2 separate regions of the Homo sapiens genome follow, and region 1 is linked to region 2. Evidence: promoter capture Hi-C in human tissues and cell types (Jung and others, 2019). All regions are on one chromosome and are shown on one strand. The core of a region is centred on a gene start or on the middle of the fragment in contact, and the rest is flanking DNA. Distances in the headings are between cores, read along the strand shown.

Region 1 (2,700 bases), core at 48-2,547, 870 kb before region 2:
GGACAGAGAGGCCAAGGGAATTTTCCATTTCCTGGATGTCTTCAAAGATTTCAAATGCCATTAACTTGAGCTGACATTTATTGAGTACTCACTCGGTGACTGGCACTGTTCTAAGTACTTTACATGTATTAACTTATTTAATCCTCACAACAGCCCTGTGTGGCTGCTACTGTTATTGTTGCCATTTTATGCTGAGAAAACAGCACAAAGAATTGAGAAATTTTTCCAAAGTTACAGTTAGGATTCAAAAATAGACTTGGTTTTAGGATTGTGTAACTTCAGAATTGATGGTGACAATGACGTTGATGATGAGGATGATGATGATGATGATGAAGGCAGCTAATATTTCAGTGTCTGCAATGAGCTGGGCATTTTCACAAACTTTATCCCTTTGAATCTTTACCTTCCACTAAGATTTGCTGCTATTCTTATCCCTTTTGTAGATAAGAAAGCAAGCTTAGAGAAGATAAAACATTTGCTTAAGTAACTGCAGAGCGTAGATTGAATTCAGGTCCATTCGAGTCAGACTGTCTGTTCACCAAGGTGAAGGGCTCCGGGGGTCACAGAGGAGCACCATGGTGAGGAAGGCCCCGTAAGAGTGTGGCAGAATGGCAACCAGGAAGGATCTGGTATACGGGATGGTGATAAGGCCCATCTCTCATGGCCAGGAAAGTGTGCCTGCCACAGCAATGAATGAAACTGGCAACATTTGACAGGAAGGGGAAATTCTCTAGTGGGAGGAATACTTCCATCAAACTGTTTTTTTTTTTTCCCAGTGGGGGAGTTTGCACATGTGTAGATTTTTTTAGCCATAGCCTTGAATAAGGAATTCAGAAAGTGGCTTCTAGTTTGAGGACTTTCATTGGCCACGTGATCACAGTAGGCTGATTTCTTCATGCCTAAGTTACCAGGCTGGGAGGACAGGCTGAGAACTATGCAAGCTGTTGAGTCACTTGGAAGGAAGAGGGTTACATACAGCAGGCACTTTCATGGAATAATACTTCCCTGAAGAGCTGCACTAATTTATTGAGGCACTGAGCTGGATGCTTCACACACATGATCTCATTGAATGTCCACAGCACCCTAGGAGGTTGATCTCATTATTAACTTCATGAAGTGACTGAGGCTTAGAGATATTAAATAGCTTCCAGCCTGGGAAACATAGTGAAACCCCATCTCTGCAAAGAATAAAAAAAAATGAGCTAGGTGTGGTGGCTCGTGCTTATATTCACAGCTACTTAGGAGGCTGAGGTGGGAGGATCCCTTGAGCTTGTGAGGGTTGAGGCTGTAGTGAGCTTTGATGGCACCACTGCACTCCAGTCTGGGTGACAGAGTGAGACCCTCTCTCTAAACAAACAAATCCCAGGAGACATTAATTAACTTGCCACTGGTCTCTAAGCTAAGTAGTTGAAGAGGGCAACAAACCCAGGTGGTCTGACTCCTAGGCTTGAAGGTCCAGGTTCAGCTACTCCACCAGTATCCCTGGTCAGTCTTTGGCCAGGGCACAGAAGGTGGCATATCAAGTTGTGGGGTCTGATTTGGAAAGTGTGAGATCCCTCCTTTGTATCTTTTCCAAAGTCCACTCAGAAGAGAGTAGTGTAAAAGGAGTGATAGCACAGCGTGGTCTGGCTGGCATAGTCAGCCGCCCTGTGATGGGCAGGGGGAAGCTGCTTTCTGTCCTCAAGCAGCCCCTAAACTTGTAGGCCAGACTCATAAATCACACATTGATAACTCAGTGTGATGTGTGCTGTAATGGTGGAGAGGGGGGAGAAATGCCAGGAGCAGCTCACCTCCCAGGGTCCTGGGGAGGCTGCACAGAGGAGCCTGAGTTCTCAGTTGGGTTTTGAGGCAGAGGAAGCAGTGAAAGAGAGAGGAAGAATGTCAGTGAGGTGCGGGGAGAAGCAAGAGAGAGAAGACACTTGGCAGGAAGAAGTAGTTGAAGTACCCGGGGATGTTTAGCTTGAAGAATAGAAAATTTGGAGGAGGCAGAGAAAAGGCAGGAAACTTTAAAAGCAGGAGAGAAAGACCTCCAGGTTCCCAAAGGGAGCATGGCACTTCTCAAGGGGGTGAGGTTGACAGCATTAGGAGAGAGAGAGAGAGAAAGAGAGAGAGAGAAAGAGAGAGAGCGAGAGAGTTGTCAAGGAAGGGAAGGACCCATGGAGGGGAGAGCACAGGTGAAAATGAGAAGTGATGGGAAAATGGGTGGGAAATAAATGAAGTTTTGAGGCCAGTTGAGAAATCTTGCTTGGTGGTTTCTATTTTCTTTGTGAAGCAGAAAAAAAGAGGAATTAGACAGACCTGCATTCAAATCTCATGACCCCAGGCAAATTTCTTATCCTTAGCTTCTTCATTTTGAAAAAGGGGTGAATGATAATAGGACCTACCTAATAAGAGTTGTCAGGATCAAATATGTTAGTGCTTGTGTAAGATGCAGTGGCACCCTGGCACTTAGTACCAAAAAAAAGTACTATAAATGTTGTCACCTATTGAGGGAGTCCGGGTTTGGGTGCTTGATACATAGAAATATCATGAATAGCAGCAGAGAATACAAGAAGAAGAGAAAGCTTGGGGGAGAAGATAGAGAATTATGCGTTGGGTATGTTGAGGATGAGGTGCCTGTGCCATATCCGGGTGTAGGTGCCCAAAGGCAACTGGAAGTCATGAGAAGTCAGGGATAGAGGTAAATGTTTGGGAGTTGTT
Region 2 (2,739 bases), core at 21-2,520:
AGGTTGCGGTGAACGGAGATCGCGCCACTGCACTCCAGCCTGGGAGACAGAGCGAGACTCCGCCTAAAAAAAATGATAATATAATAAAAAAATAAAAAAAAAAGCCAGTTGAAGAACTTAGGTTAGAAAAAGGAGAATGGGATGATCCACAGAGTGGGGTTTCTGAGAAAGTAAAGGTTATAGATTTTAAGCACAGAGGAGGAATTATCTTTAAATTAGAAGAAAAAGCTTGATGAGAGGTTGGAAAGAACACACGCAAGTGAAAATATGTATCTTACTGTATCTACATGTATGTGTATTGTTGTATCTACCTGCAGATATGTATGTCTTATTGTATCTACATGTAGGTATGTATGTATACTTTTAATGTACACATATGCATCTGTGTCTACATATATACATATCTTAGTCTATCTACATGTATGTATCTTACTGTGTCTACACTAAGATGTTTCTTACTGTGTGAGCTACGTTGGAACCTGCTTTTTCATTTATTCTATTGCAACCATTTCCTCCATGCCGGGATTATTCCTCCACATCATTTTTACAGTGTCCTAATACATGCCAGTAGCTGTTTTTGAAGCCATCTAGTAGCGCTGGACATTTTGGCTGTTTGCAATTTTTCACCATCATCAATACCACAGCTTAGTATCTCGAAGGTGAAATATTTGCAGATACCCAGAATTATTTCCTGAGCAGAAAATCCGTGCAGGCGGAACTGCTGAGTCAAAGGTCGGTGGATAAAAATCGCTTTTAAGCCTCACAACCCGCCTCAGGTATGCATTCTTTACCTGAGGAGGAACAGAGAAGCAGAGAGGTTAAATAACTGGCCCAAGGTCAAAAATAATTAGAAGTGGCTGAATTCAAAAGCCGCGCGGGCTCATCAGGCTGCAGTTGGGGTAAAATTTGCGTTTTAGGCAATTTTTTTTTTTTTTTTTTTTGGCGTGTGTCAGTGGGGGAGGGGCCGGGCGGCGGGTAGGAAACTTGTGTCGCAGCAAAGAAGGAGGAGGAGGGGAGGGACTCCCCTCCTCGGTCAGACCGGAGCCGGCCGCACCGAAAAAGGTTGGACTCGGGACTCCGCAGGCCCCCCCAGCCACTCCGCGGGGCGCCTCGGAGGCTGTGACCTCCAGGGAGGTCCGGCTGGGTGCAGCGTGACACGCCGGGGCGGTTGCCAAGGACCTGCCCAATCTGCGGGTCCAGTTGCTAGGGCCTCCATCTTGGGGGCCAGTGGCCGTGGCGCCCCCGGAAGGGGTTGCCGAGTGGGGCATTCACTTCCGGTCTGGGGCCTGCGGCGGCGGCGGTGTCGGCGGCGGCGGCGGCGGCGGCGGCGGCGGCGGCAGCGGGTCGGTGTAGAAAATGGCGCTGGTGCAGCGGCTCGGGCCTCTCCCCGCGGCGCTGCGGAGGGCTTGAGGCTCGCGAGCCTCCTTCGCCGCGCCCCACTTGCTCGTGCACTTTACACACATGAGGTGAGCGGAACAAGGGCCTCCCTCCGGGCGGGAGGAGCCGCGGGCGCTGCCGCAGGGCCCGCAACCCGCGGCGGCGGCAGCAGAGGCGGCGGCGCCGGGCGTCCCCGAGACTTCGGGCCTCGGCGGGAGGGCGCAGGCTGCGTTGCTGCGGAGGCCGAGCGGGCGGCCCGGGGGAGCCTCGCTGCGCCGCGCCGCGGGGGCCAGGCCGGGGTTGCGCCTCGCCCGCGCCGCGGGACCGCAGTCCGGGCTGCAGCCCCGCAGCTTTGTGAGTCCCCCTCCCCCCGTCCTCTCCCCTCCCCCATCCGGCCCCGGCGCGAGCCTCTGCCGCAGCAGCTCCGTTTTCACGCGCATCTCGTTTTTGTGTGTGTGTTTTTGTTTTGTTTTTGTTTTTGTTTTTTTGTTTCAGAGAATTGGAAGCTAAAGCTACCAAAGACGTAGAAAGAAATCTTAGCAGGTAAGATGGGCGAGCTTTCCGTCTCCCGCCCCACGATAATCGTATATTTCTACTCCGATTCGCCTTTTCTGGGTTGAGAAGTTCCCCCGTGACATTTTCTTCCGCACCCGGAGAGCAGACATTCGGGAGAAGCGGCCTGGGGGAATACTGGAGGGATTGCGGGGAGATGCGTAATTACGCGTGTGTTTCTTTCTTTAAAAAAAAAAAAAAAAAGCGCAAAGCAATTCTTGTAAACTTAGTTAAAGCATTCTCACCCTTTTAGAATTTAATTAGGGGACTTGTGCATTAATTACTATTGTAAATGGTTGCAGGCATTGTGTGACTCATGATTGAGGCGGCCCTTATGGCGGGCTGTCAAACTGTTTTGGCTTCCCCGTTATTACTTTGTAGCTCAAATTGTTGCTTTTATAAAAAGATACTATGTGTTCGCATTCCCCCCCGCCCCCCCCCCCCCCCCATACATTGTAGTCAGGCGGATTCTGTTGCATTGGACACAGTTTTGTCCTTGAACTTTACCAAGCATAAGCTGCGTTTTGTTTTCCTTCGAAACTCCATTTCTGTCCATGTTCGGTGTGTGCTCTTTTTATCAGCTGGTAAAATAATTAAAAATCTTTTCTCCAGAAGAGGTTATCGTTCCTGTTGGGCCCTGCTGCTTTTGCATCACCGTGAAGGGAGAATTTTTTTTTTTTTTTAAACGATGTCTTTATGGAATGGAAATATTTAGCTTCATTGAGCTGTAATTGCTTAAGCATCAAGGAATTGTACTGTATTTAACTCCTTTTCACATTCATTTTCTTTCCTACCGTCTTTTCCTTTCTT

What was found. Contacts are between HindIII fragments. The study calls those that stand out against the background at their distance.
Region 1: a fragment that was not itself captured here is called in contact with the fragment with the promoter of TNRC6A in region 2 in 1 of the 25 tissues and cell types used here (dorsolateral prefrontal cortex).

What each region holds. Positions count from the first base shown.
Region 1 is chr16:23,857,784-23,860,483 of GRCh38, forward strand. All of the region lies in intron 2 of PRKCB (protein kinase C beta), which reads left to right. Among named protein-coding and RNA genes, the nearest start is that of PRKCB, 23 kb to the left of the region's middle. The HindIII fragment of the contact is 4,841 bases long and covers 1-2,700 here.
Region 2 is chr16:24,728,381-24,731,119 of GRCh38, forward strand. TNRC6A (trinucleotide repeat containing adaptor 6A) reads left to right here and starts at 1,271. Exons shown (of 25, transcript NM_014494.4): 1 at 1,271-1,466; 2 at 1,873-1,920. The coding sequence starts at 1,462. RefSeq lists a silencer at 1,300-1,609. The HindIII fragment of the contact is 13,221 bases long and covers 1-2,739 here.